Regions from separate parts of the Homo sapiens genome. Here region 1 is linked to region 2. Evidence: promoter capture Hi-C in 16 types of primary human blood cells and fetal thymus (Javierre and others, 2016). All regions are on one chromosome and are shown on one strand. The core of a region is centred on a gene start or on the middle of the fragment in contact, and the rest is flanking DNA. Distances in the headings are between cores, read along the strand shown. Region 1 holds the start of NCOA2 (nuclear receptor coactivator 2). Region 2 holds the start of SLCO5A1 (solute carrier organic anion transporter family member 5A1).

Region 1 (6,451 bases), core at 3,614-6,113, 570 kb after region 2:
TAGTCTTTTAATTTCAGTTGCCTTCATAGTTTATCCTTAAGATTTCCACTCCTTTTCATAATGTTTTACCACAGCTAAGAGAACTACACCAGCTTCTAAAATACCCACAAAAGTCACATTCGTGATCACCTCTATCTAGAAATTAGCATCTAGAATCCATAAAGATGTGTTTTCTTTATGATGTCTGAATTGAAGGTCTGCAACATTAAAATTGTATTTCATAGCTTTTCCAGCCATTACTTGTAATAGACTTTAGAGAGTAATATGACATATTCTTTTTACAGCTTGCAATTCATAAAGCCCTACTAGAAGCCTTTAAAAACAAAAAAGGAAAAACACAAACACCTAGAACACAAACACTTAGAACCTTTTTTGTTTGTTTAGAAAAGTAAGGCATAGAGAGGTAAAATTAGCCTTAAATATGAAAGGGTACAAAAAAACTGAAGGTTTTGTTCCATTTTCCCTTAAATGGCTTTCATTTTTGGTATGAACTATAGTCTTATTCTTATACTATGGAAAAAGATCCTGATTTGTTGCTGATTTTATGATTTGCTGCAATAAAAGACCAATACCTTAAAGCAGTGACTTATTTTCTCCCTCCTATTCTCTTAATCTAAAATCAATAAAGCATGTAATAACATACATTACTAAACAAAACTACATACGCAAAATACTAAAGTTAGTAATTTCTTAAATAGCAGTTTTTTCATAACAATAAATAAGCATTAACTTGGCTTTTAAATATAACTTCGATCATGACACAATAATGGCCAAAATATCAAATGAGGGCACATGCTGTGCATTTCAGAAAAATTGTTTAAAGAGACCATCCCCTTTTGTATTTTCCTTTACTATCCAATATCCTAAAGAGTGCTTAAAGAATTGCTTTTCAACTCAATACAACACAAACAATTTTTCCTAAGAAATCCAAGCTGTCAACTTATGGGTCACATTTCAACCTTATGTAATTTGAAACAGCTACGGTACTGAATCCTTAAATACAGGGCATATAATGGAAGGACTGCTCACAGATCCTTGATGTTACTGAAGCTTGGAAAGCTTTAATAAGATACAACTATAAATAAAGACAACTAAGGAGCATTACCCCTTTATCCACAGCCCAAATCCCCCTCCAAGCCTTACATTTTATATTTCCAATAAAATGCTCTTCTAACACTAAGCCACTCATCTAAATTATATTTAACCAATGAAGGGTTAAAATCCAAAACATATTAACTACTCAAAACATAATAAATCCGTAATTGGTGAGCTCCTTTTCTACCCTCCTGCTTCAGTATACTGACATCTAAAAGTCAAAGAACTCCTCTGTTTAAGACTGAAATTCCCAGGAGGAAGGAAGCTCAGATCCAGTCTGAGAGCACACAATGGAATCACAGCTGACGATGCACATCTTTTTCTAGATGTCTCCATATGCTTGAGAGGTTTTTTTCCCCCCAAGCCAGCCATTAGGAGACTTGGTTCTCTCTGCCACCAAGAATCTTACCACATTTTCAAGGATTGTTGCAAAGAATTAAGTAAAATAATGTGTTGCTCTTCAGCATACAAAAGAGAGAAGGGCATATGTCAGAGTGCCCATAAGTAACTAAATTAACAAATGGTGGGGGGTTTTGAATGTTGTCAAATTTTGAATGTTGTTTTTAATACTCCTTACCTCTCTGTCAGTCTAAGTGTTTGGTTTACCTTCTCTGTTTTTACTATTTTATTACAAAAAACATCTCAAGAGCCACAGCAAAATGCAATTAATTCTTGTCTACATGCACCCAAAATGATCCTGAATTGGGAATTCTCATGGTAAATTTGAAAACACTATATTACAACAGAACACATTTGTAAGATTTGGCAAATACTGTTCCCTAGAACTGCAGTCCCCTTCGATTCTTTCTTAGCAACCCAAGATTAATAAAAGCTTGACTTATAGAAAAGATACACATTTTCCACATAAGATACCTAAAAGAAAACACTCCCAAAATTAAATTCATGGGATACTTATGACAAAAATCAATGAATTCATTCTTAATCTAACACTTTTCATTCTTTGAGCTCCCAAAGATTCTACAAATTCCAGGTGAGAAAGGGAGCATTACTTCTGTCAGTGTGCCTAACCTCACCAACAAAGAACAGGAACACACACACACATACACACACACACACGCGCACACACACATGCTTTGTAGCAGCTGCTTTCTTTTTAAAAGACTGCTATTCCTGCAGAGCAACCTGTGATCTTTACAGAGAATCAAAGACCTCTGTTCCTAAAAGTCAAGAGTTGAGAAAGTCACTTGACTGAACGCGCAATAAACAGTTAAAACCAAAGATGTCTCCAAACCTTGTATAAACCAGAAAAGTACCCACACACTGTACAATTCAGCAGTGTTTAAGAAAATTAAAATTATTTTTAAGAATCTTTTGTGTGGGAGTAATCTGGCAAACTACATTTTACTCAGACTTTTTCCTGTAGACAAATATTCTTTGATTAGCTTTGCTCCTTAAATACCCACACTTAATGTTTCAATCAGTGATGCTTTAGTTCCCAACTTCATTTTGTTTGCAAAAAGAAAAAAAAATGCATACCATAAACCACAACTTTTTTTTTTAATGACATCCCCAATGCCGAAGTTTCAAGTACACTTTGGGAACTGGAGCTCTAATTAAACAAGAAACCAGTGAAGCCATTATGAACAATGATGCTTTCTACTACCAATAATCAGTTGACGTGATACTGCTCCCATGCCTTCATTCTCAGGGTTCCCTTTCAAATTTCATTGTCCCCATTCTGGCATAGCTGAGTGAAACCGAGATAAGAGGTAAACGGGTAACTTCTGTCTTCTGTGACCCTTAGCATGTAAACCGGACGCTGAGGTCCAGGACATGATCACTACAGCATATGCCATTTTAGAAACCGGCCTCGGTGAGTTACTGCCACATCCTAAAGTGGCTTTAGACTTCGTCGTGTCTAAGACAACGTCTATTTCGGTACGAAAGACATACAGGACCTCGAGTGCCTCGGCAGCCTCTGCGGGTCGGAGCCCCTATAAGTGACACAACCCCAGAAATCAAGGAGCGGGTGACTCGGGGATGGACAAGAGTAGCTGGCTCTCAGCGTCTCCATGACTCCCCCGCCCCGCATGCAACTCTGCTCTAACTGGTCAGGAGAAACCCCGCCCCCTTCCTTCCTCCGGTCCGCACGATTGGCTCACCGACACCCGGCAGGTCAGCTCCCTGCCTTCGATTGGCTCACTGCCCCATCAGTCAGACGCACCGAGATTCGGGTCGGTGGGAGGGGAAGGCGTCGGAGGAGGTGGAGAGGGAGTGGGATTAGAGGACGAGGTGGCGGAGGAAGGTGTTCAGGCTCGGTCTCTGGTTTGGGAAAGTTTCCCCTACCAGTGACGGACCCAGAACGCGGGAGGCCCAGTCCAGCTCCGGGCCAGCGGAAGGGGGCTCCAGTCCCCGATTCCCGCCCCTCGGTCCCGCAGGCCCCGGAAACCACTAGAGGGAGGGGAAGAGGGAGGGGCCATCTAACCAGGGACCGACCCACCCCCGGTCTCGGAAGAGGCGCCTCTGGGACTCCCCCGAGGGGAGGAGGCGGGGAGCGCAGCCGGCAGCGACGACCCCGGCCCCCTCCCCCAGCACCCCCCAGGGGCCCGAGAGGGCCGGGTCCCCGTGCCCGGGGCGTGACCGTCGCGAGGCGGCCACAGGGCCCCTCCCGCTTCCCGCCTGGGGCCCCGAGGGCCTGTCCCTTCAGGGGCGGAGAGAAGGGGGCGAGAAAAGGGGGCGCTGGCGAGCCAACCCGGAACCTCCCGGTCCGCCTCCCGCCCCCGGCCCCGGCCCCAGCGCGCCTCCTGCATACACGCCCGCACCCAGAAAGTTCAGTCAGGGGCGAGCCCGGCTCGGCGCCGCCGGGGCCCGGCCCCCGGCTCCCCGCCCCCACCACGGCCCGGCCTGCTCGGCCCCAGCGCGCCGCCCGCCCCGCCCGCCGCAGCTCCTTCCCGTCCGCCCGCGGTGCTCGGCGCCCCTCGCCCCCCACCCCCGGGGCTGACACGGGCCCGGGCCACCCGCCGGGCCGCGGCTCCCCTTCCCCGCCCCGCGCTGCAGCTCGCCGGCCGCCCCGACACCCCGCTTCACCTTCACACACCCCCAGCACTTCCCGAGTCCTGCCTCCCCTCGCCCGGCTCCCACTCTCCGCTGCAGCCGCTCCGCGCTTCCATTAAAGAATGCACCTTCCCAGGATTCACCTTCTCGGCTCTGCCGCGCTGCCCCCGAGGGGTTAGAGCCTCGGTCTCCGCCGACCCCGCACCGGGCTGGGCAATGGGCACTCGCTCCTCGGGGCGGGGGCCGCGCCCGCACCCCCGGCCGCGCCTCGGCGCTCACCTCTCGCCCGCGCCGCGGGCTGCAGCCTCCGCCCGCCTCGCGCTCCGGGACTCGTCTCCTGAGCTCTCGCAAGGCGCTGGAGCGCCTCCTTTCTCTCCCGGGGACTCCGCGTCTCCCCGTCGCTTCCCGCCCTCCCCACCCCCAAGCCCCAACTCCCCAGCGTCGCTGCGCCTCCGGGATGCAACTCCCGTTTTCCGCGCACTCCGGCGGCGGTCCCCGCACACAAAAACAGCCTCTCGGAGGCGCACGGCTCTGTCGGAGCTCGGCGCAGGAAGGGCAGTCGCGGCCGGGGGTGGGGACGCGGCGCCCCCCGCCTGCCGCCCGCCCCCCGCCCGCCCTCGCGGCCCCGGGGGAAGGCGCGGTTACCGGCTCGGGTCGGTCACGCCGTCAGGTGCCGGCTGCCGTCGGCGCTGACCTTCGCCGCCGAAGCTGTAGCCGAGGCTGCGGCCGCCATGTTCCCGTGTTAATAACTGCTGCCTGGTTGTTTATTTCAATGGAGATCCTCCCCCAACTCCCTCCTCCTCCTCCTCCTCCTCCTCCTCCTCCGCGTCTCCGCACTTGCGGAGAGACAGACAGCGCGAGCTCGCGAGCAGGGGAGGGGGCTCGGGAGCCAGGCCGTCCCTCCCTCTGCCTCCCCGGCAGTGGCCGCCGCCAAGTCCTGTCACCGGGAAAAGGACGGGGCGGAAACTTGCCTCTCGCGCCCCCGAGGAAGGGGCAAAGGTGGACGCAGGGTTGTCCGGGGAGCAGCCCCTGGCCGCGGGGTCCGCAGCATCTCCGTCGGCAGAGTCCTCTGAGAAGGCGGCCCGGGGAGAGGTGAAGAAGAGTAAGGGGACAGGGGACAAAATGGGTGACTGTGGTAGAGGGAGGGTGACCTAGAGGTGACTGGAACTGAAGAGAGAGTCAACAGAGGACTGCATGGGAGGGCAAAGGGCAATGCCAAAAAGAAAACTAGCGACTGGGACGGGCCTGGGCCGCTGAGTTAGAGGCAGTGGGGCCTGGGGGCTGCAGACGGCAGGGACGGTGCCCCAGGACGAAGATCGGGGAGAGCCGAGTTCCAGGGTCGCCAGCAGAGGACCCTCGCGCCCGTCCGGCCGGACCCTTCGGCCAGCACCCTGCACCCCCTCGGGCGCACCTCACCCTACCCAACTCCCGGTCCTGCCGCTGCTCCCCGGAGGCGCCCCGCATCCGTCAAGTCCCCTACGGCTCCAACAGGGAGAGGCTTCTCCCATTGCAGTCCTAGCTCCAGAGGGGATGGAGAGGCGCGACTGTGGGAGCTGGAAGGGGCACCACCCGGCAATTGCGGGATAAAGCAAATGCTGCACACAGAGTGTGAAACTTAACCTGGTTGAGAATTTTCGGCACATCATGAAATCATAAGTTTGTATTGGAAAGTCCATTCTCTAGACATCCGTGAACAAAGTACTGAGGGGACGTAGGAGATTGGCACTGAAAATGCGAGAACCCCCATTTAAGTGTTACTTAGACCAATCTGTTTTACGCTTTGGAAAAGCAAGTTTTTTTTCCAACTTATACGGTAATTAGTTGAAAAAAAAAACTTTTGTTTAATGGCAGTTATCAAACTATGAGAGGAACATATTCCCTGATTTTAATCTTATAATGAGAAAGGTCACTTGCGGTAGACAATAAGAGTGTTTATTGAACACTTACTGTGAATCTGACTGTGCTAGGTGATGTATATATGCTATAGGCCTTAATCCTCAAACCTTCCGAAGTCATTGCCGCTTTTCACTTCACACAAAAAATTGAAGCTTAAAGTAATTTGCCCAGGGTCACAGCCAGTAGTTGGAGAGGATGTGAGCCCAGTTCTGGTGAGCTCCAAAGCCCATGCTTTTAAACATGTCTTCATCCTAAAATTTGTGGGTGTACCGCCAATTTTATTTGGGAAAAGAATAAAAAAAATGTGTGGGGTGTGTGTGTCTGTGTTTGTTTGTGGATAGAAAATGCTTGGAAGCCTATAACAACAAATGTTAGCGCTGGGGAGTGTAAGAAGTGGGTGATGAGGCACTTCCACTTTTTATTTTGCACACCTATCTAATGTTTG
Region 2 (6,966 bases), core at 1,192-3,691:
CAGGAGGCGCTGCTGAGGACCGGTAAACTCTTAGACCTGAGGGTCTCCGGCTCGCACCTCTCTTGGACAGCTTCTGCAGTGGCCGGCGCCTCCAGCTGCTCTCCCGCCCCGGGCTGCAGTCCAGTGCCTTCGTCCATGGCGCTTAGAATTCAGATTTGATAGCTGATGGCACCCAAGCACTCCGGCACGTTTCATCCACCGGCACGAGGGGCCGAAGCCGGGCCCAGTCAGTCTTGCCCACCTGGGACTGGGGCTGGGGGCGCAGGGCCGCGCAGCAGGGCATCCTCACCAGCTGCGAGGCGCCCAGTGCATCCTGATCACAGACACGGCTTCAAGGCTCCGCAGCCGCGTGCCACAGGGGGCAGGGGTCCGCGCGGTACTGCGATGAGCCCTACTCGGCGTCCCTCTCCGGGCGGTAGCTTGAGGCAGGCGCCTCGCGCGTCCCGGGCTCATCCCCTCCGCCGCCGCCGCCGCCGCCGCCGCTGGGCCCGCGGCCAGGAGCGAGTGCACCCTGCGCCGGGGGTGGGGGGGCACTTAGCGCTGCTGTCCGTACAGCATCCCACCTCGCTGCGCCAGGGGTACCGGGTGTTCGCCGCCTGGGCTCGCGGCACCCTCGGGAGTGAAGCTGCCGACCTGCAAAGCAGAAAGAGGGCGGTCAGCGAAGAGCGGCTGCGGCTTGGGGCTAGCGTCCCAGCGCCCCGGGGACCAGGGTTAGGTGACCCCGAACCGTCCCTAGAGGGACGGAGGAGCTAGTCAGGAGCGGAGCCCCGGAGGACTAGGCAGCAGCCGGCTGCAGTCTCCAGTCCCGGAACAATAAGCAGCAGGCGGTCGGCGGAGACTCTCCCTCATTGTCTGCCGCGGACCTGCCCCCGTCCCGCCCCTTCTGCCTTAAACATTGCGTTTGCTTTTATATGTTAATAATTATCAACCTGGCAGCTCTGACTCAGAGGCAGTGTCTTTTAATCGAGTGAACTAACTGCAGCCTTTCCGTACTCCTACTCCATTACTCAAAATAGAAAATGCCCAAAAGAACAAAGGAAACTTTTTCACAGACACACAATGTATTCCCTGTCCCAATTTTTCTAAAAGGAAAAAAGAAGGTGGGGGTAAACTACGTGTGTAGAAATGTGTGTGCACACTGGTGTGCGTTGGCACGTGTGCGCGACTAGATTTGAATCTGTCTGCTCCACCAGAGACACACATTCAAAGCCGAAGGCAGCAGCAAAAAGGTCAACATGCTTGCCTCTTTATTCCCAACACCAAAAATAACCCCCTGACCGAAAGAACTCTTCAATTACAAATACCAGGGGCATTCGAGGCTGTGGCCCGCACTAAGTCCCAGAGCGCGGTATCAAACGAAACCGAAAATCCGTCTGCTTTGCCGAGAGCTAGGGAAGCCACAACCAAACAAAGAGATCCCGGCACGCTGTCAGAGAGCGCGCGAGGAGCCCACGGAGCCGGCTGGGCGCACGCGGGCCGGCGGGGAGGTGTGCTATTGACTGAGCGCACCCCGCTAGCGTGGGCCTGGGGAGCGTGTGCGCGTGCGCGGCCACACACACACACACACACACACACACACACACACACACACACCGGCGTACTGGAACCTCTCTCGCGATCCCGCACCCAGCTTGAATTCAGCAAGAATCGAAAACAGGTGTGCCCCCGTGGTAAGACCCCGCCCCTAATCTTGGGGACCCCCACTCCACTCCTCCAGCCTGGGGCAAGGACGGGGGGCGGAATATGCACCAGGTGGGAGACAGCCGAGCTTCACTACACTGGGTTTCATTTTGCAGCGCGCCTTTGTGATGCTGCTGAGAAAAGAAAGGAGGAAGGGCAAGGGAGAAAGGCAGAGAGGCTGGGCGGCCAAGGGTGGCCGCTCCGGCATCTCCCTCGGCTGTGCTGGGCCAAACCCGCTCCCAGATTCCCGGCCTGCCAGCCACTCACAATCCCGGGCTTCCCCGCCGCTGCCTTACCCAGGCGCCTTCCCGGGGAACCCCACCAGCCGCTGCGTGAGGAGCCGGGGAATCCCAGCAAACTCTCGCCGCTCGCGGGGGGCGTCCGAACCCCCTGCTTAGGCGAGCGCCCTCACAGCATCGCAGACTCGGATGGACACGCGGATCCCGGCAGGGAGCTCTTGGAGCAGGCGTGGAATCCCAGGGACACCCCCTGCGCGCACATCACATACACGCACATCCTACACACACACACACACACACACACACACACACACACACACACACAGAGCCCGTGGGAAGACAAGACCGCCGGCGACAGCCCGCCGCGCTGCCCGGGCGCTCAAGCCGCCGCTACTCACTAGCGAGTCTGTCAGTCTGTCTGCCTGGCTGAGTAGAGCGGCGGGAGGGGGGCACTGAGCTACGGGAATAGTTGGGAGCCGCGTGAGGAGGCAGCCTCCGTCCAGCCGAAGAGAAATCAGTGAATGAGACTGTGACTCAGGCTGAACTCTTCCCCCCACCCCTCGCCTGTCACCCAAGCCTCTCCTCCGCTCCAAACAGACACACGCGCACAGAGACGCGCCCGGAGAGGAGCAGCCGAGGGCGCAGGCGCGAGGGCAGCCACCCAGCCCAGCCCTCCCACAGCCAGCCACCCCGCTGCCCTTCACCTGCGTGGCTGCGGGGGCCCAAGAGCGCTGAAGCCCCGAGGGAGCCGGTCTCTAGAAAAGTCAGCGGCTGAAGCTGACAGCCCACTCTGAATAAATAAATCATTTCTGATCGTTTATTCCGTGCCTTGGGCACACACCATGTCTCATTCACCATAGTAGATTCTGGGACCAAAGATAAACAAGACAAGATACTTGGTCGGAGGAAACCTCTGGCTTGTGGGGGAAATACTCATGTAAATGGCTTAAAACAACGTGGTACATCTATGCAGCCTGCTACTGGAGTAGCCAATATCCATTAGCCTTCATTTCCACGCAGCAGGAAGAACAGAGGCACGGGGGCATGGTGCTGCCAGTCAATAGGTAGATAAGCTTCCTAGAAGATTGCAGGGATGGGGCAGAGGACCAGACTGCAAGAGTGGCTGAGTAGAAAGGGGCACTACGGGTTTCCTAAGTTGTGTACTGTCAATAATGTGGGGGCAATGACGTTCTGACTTCCTCACCAGAGAGCTGGCTCTGGCAGTGACAGGTAGACAGATGTGAGGCCACACTGCGGGCACAGAAGTGAGTTGGGAGGCAGTCTGAAAGCAAAATGTGATGAGGCATTGGCAGGGGGCATGGAGAGGAGGGAACTGGGCAGCTGATGCAATCTGCAAGAGAAGAAAACCAGCCGAGGTAGGATGACTCCCAAGTTTCTAGCACCAAGTTGGGTGACTACGTGCCTGACAGCCAATAAAAGCACAGGTGGAGAAACATGCTTTAGGAGAAAGATTGTTCTCATCTACATGTGTTGAGTTTGAAATGTTTGGGGGACATCCCAGTGTACGTGTCCCATAAGCCACTGGACACACAGGAGGTTTGGACTAGGAATATTGATCAGTAGTCATCAGCCCAAAGGTGGCATGAGAAAGGATGGAATGAATAGGGAAGATCATCCAAATTGTGAAGAATCTAGGAGGACAGCGTACAGCCAAAGGAAGGAGACTGGAAGCAAGGGTCAGAGAGGTGTGGGACGCATCAGAAAAGCCAAAAGAGCAGACGACTGTAAGAAGGGAAGGGTCAGATGTGTACAGGCTGCAGGGAAGACAAACAGGATGATAACTGAAAAAAAAAAAAAAAAAGAGTATCTGAGGGCACTTGTGACCATTGACAGAGCAGGATAGTGCTCTAATGGAGGAAAGGAGGTTGCTCACAAGTACCAGTGACCATGCTGGCCATTGCTGCCAGGTCGAAGCCCCTCCACTGGCCCTTGGCCTTGCCCAATGAAAGCATTGTCTCCATTTTACAGATGTGATAAGTGTAGAGAGGTTAAGTAACTTTATATAGGCACACAGCTGCTCTGTAGACAATATGAACCAATGTGCTCCAAAAGACTATGTTCTTACTTAACCTCTTAACCCTGACTCTCTACCCTCTCTCCTGCCATTGAATAACATCCTGACTCGTCAATGCACCTTGATTCTTTTGATTATCTCCCTTTAGTCCAACAACCGTCGTATCTACAGCGATCCTTAGAGAACAATTAAGGCCAGTTGACAGTAAAGAACAATCAGTGTGTATTTGAAGTCCATGCTGAGAGAGCATCAATCTTCTGGCAGCTGCAAGACTGACCTATCAACCGAGGCATTTCTTCATTCCCTGCCATTGTCTCCTCCTCTTGAGATCGCCATCAGGCACAGTCACTTTTCTACAAACAGGCAATAGGACTCCCGCTGCCACCCTGCCCAGATTTTAGTCCTCTACTGCTGATAAAGTGAGCAAAGATACGTGGCACTTCCTGAACCCAAATACTCTTCTGAGCTGATTCTAAATCCACACAGAATCAACCTACCTCCTATTACCTCCTTCCAAGCTCTGTGTCCCATTCTCTCATTTCAGTCTCAGCTCCAGACATCAGTGAATTCAATGTGATACATCAGGGGACATCACAGGACTTCCCTACTTGAAAATCAAGCAATCGTGTCCCTGAAACACTCTGTCTTTATTCATGCTCAGTTACCGTAAAGTAGATGCAACTCTAAGAACCTATGGATTTTTTTATTGCCACTAATAGATCATGATTTACAGCAAAATTTTAAAAGGTCCAATTTTACTCACATAAGAAGAAGAAAACATTCAGCAAGAAGCATTTCTTTTGCTTTATCTTTCCCAGTTAAATATGACTTTAAAAAAGACAAAATTTTAAAAGGTCCAATTTTACTCACAAAAGAAGAAGAAAACATTCAGCAAGAAGCATTTCTTTTGCTTTATCTTTCCCAGTTAAATATGACTTTAAAAAAGACAAAATTTTAAAAGGTCCAATTTTACTCACATAGGAAACAAGAAGAAAACATTCAGCAAGAAGCATTTCTTTTGCTTTATCTTTCCCAGTTAAATATGACTTTGAAAAAGAAGAGCACACCTCATTAGCCGTAATTGTCTGATTAATACAAAGAAATGGACTCATATCACGGGGTTCTACTACCCCTATGGTAGTGTTTACTATCCTTATTTCACTCAATAATTACAGTTACTTTAACCAGAATGCCTGCCTTGTTTGGCATTTTGGGAGAGGAAGCATATGACTGTAAACCCTCTTCAAACTTTCAGACTTACGTTTGCTTCTTCTAAGTCCATCGACTTTATACATAAATGACTTCTTTTTAAAAATAAATAAATAAATAAATAAATAAATGATTTCTTTCCTGATCTTCATATAACAAGTATGTAGCCTTTGCAATTTCCAGGGCAGTCTACAGGTTTAAAATCTGGCCGTCCTGGAGAATGGGCAGAAGAAAGCTGAAGGGAGCCTTTTCCCACAGCCCTTCCCTTCCTTCTTAAAGAAGGTTCACTTCAGAGGTCTCCCAGATACAACAAGAACTGAGTTTTTGGTTCAGAATATTTTGTGGGTGCAAAACATAATACATAGTTGCCAGTAACATAATTGAATTAGGTGTTGGTTGTTTAAGAGGAGACACATTGTATCTTTAAGGTAGCCCCTTAATAGAACTTGGCATGTATATCCTTCCTTAGAAGTGAATTTCAGGTTGGGTAAAACCTGAGAAGGAACAGATCTGGCCCTGGGGTACAATGAATGCAGGCAATCACTCCAGCCCTGGTGGCTTGAGGGCCCTGCAAGTGCTAAAGGAGTATAGTGACCAACTGTGTCCAAAGAGACTTAGCACTGCAAGTCCCACACCCCCAAGAAACCACAGTTCCATGAACACCTGGAGGCTTGGCTCCCTATAAAGAAACTGCCACCTCCCTTAATATAATTAAGCCAGATTAGCTGGGTACTGTGGCTCACACCTGTAACCCCAGCACTTTAAGAGGCTGAGATGGGAGGATCCCTTGAGAACACATTTCCACTAAAAAAAAATTTTTTTTAAATAGCCAGGCATGGTGGCATATGCCTGTGGTCTCAGCAACTCAGGAGGCTGAGGCAAAAGGATCACTTAAGCCCAGGAGGTAGAGGCTGCAGTAGGCTGTGATTGCGCGACTGCACTCCAGCCTGGGCAACAGAGCAAGACCCTGTCTCAAAAAATAAACAAACAAACAAAAACCAACAACAACAAAAAATAATTAAGCCAGGCCAGGTGCAGTGGCTCATGCCTGTAATCCCAACACTTTGGGAGGCCGAGGTGGGTGGATCACCTGCGGTCGGGAGTTCAAGGCCAGCCTGACCAACATGGAAAAACCCCATCTCTACTAAAAATACAAAATTAGCTGGGTGTGGTGGCACATGCCTGTAACCCCAGCTACTTGGGAGGCTGAGGCAAGAGAATCACTTGAACTGGGGAGGCGGAGGTTGCAGTGAGCCGAGATCGCACCATTGCACTCCAGCCTGGGTAACAAGAGTGAAACTCCATCTCAACAATAATAATAATAATAATAAAGCCAGATACTCCAAGGCTAGTAATGGAGGGAAACTTCCCTGTGAAGAGGAGACAGTTGTCTTAAAAAAAAAATCATGTTCCCTTGAAAGATGTTTCATAATTACCACCACTGCCACCTTGGCCTGGAAAAGAAAGTGGTCGGATGGGAAGGGGAAGGAAGCAGGTTAGAAGAGGCAGTCCTCCATGGGCTGTGAGCATCTCTACATGTTTCTCTTGGGTGCACCTAGAATGCAAAGCCCTAACCACTTCTGAATGCAGAGAAACTCAAACTGCATTGTCCTCTGCTCTCATACCGCAACAATCAACACAAAAGACTTCTGTGACCAGATGTTGGTGGGCAGTCTACACCAACAAGCAATCAGTTCTGCAGAAGACACCAGCTGGGCATCCTCCAATTCAACTCCGTTCTGACACTATCTACCTCAAGATAGCATCACATCCCAGAGGTTGAGGGCTCAGTCCCACAAAACT

What was found. Contacts are between HindIII fragments. The CHiCAGO score rates a contact against its expected background, and 5 or more counts as called.
Region 1: the fragment with the promoter of NCOA2 here is called in contact with the fragment with the promoter of SLCO5A1 in region 2 in 3 of 17 cell types (total B cells, naive B cells and neutrophils); the score reaches 24.4 in total B cells.

The regions. Positions count from the first base shown.
Region 1 is chr8:70,398,945-70,405,395 of GRCh38, forward strand. NCOA2 (nuclear receptor coactivator 2) reads right to left here and starts at 4,864. Exons shown (of 23, transcript NM_006540.4): 1 at 4,756-4,864. RefSeq lists silencers at 3,461-4,120, 4,151-4,440, 4,481-4,790, 5,481-5,640 and an enhancer at 5,261-5,380. The HindIII fragment of the contact is 4,231 bases long and covers 1,926-6,156 here.
Region 2 is chr8:69,832,537-69,839,502 of GRCh38, forward strand. It overlaps SLCO5A1 (solute carrier organic anion transporter family member 5A1), which reads right to left and starts at 2,442. Exons shown (of 10, transcript NM_030958.3): 1 at 2,318-2,442; 2 at 1-633. The coding sequence starts at 137. SLCO5A1-AS1 (SLCO5A1 antisense RNA 1) reads left to right here and starts at 1,576. Exons shown (of 4, transcript NR_186568.1): 1 at 1,576-1,657. RefSeq lists silencers at 418-507, 2,598-2,707 and enhancers at 698-767, 2,198-2,277. The HindIII fragment of the contact is 8,160 bases long and covers 1-2,990 here.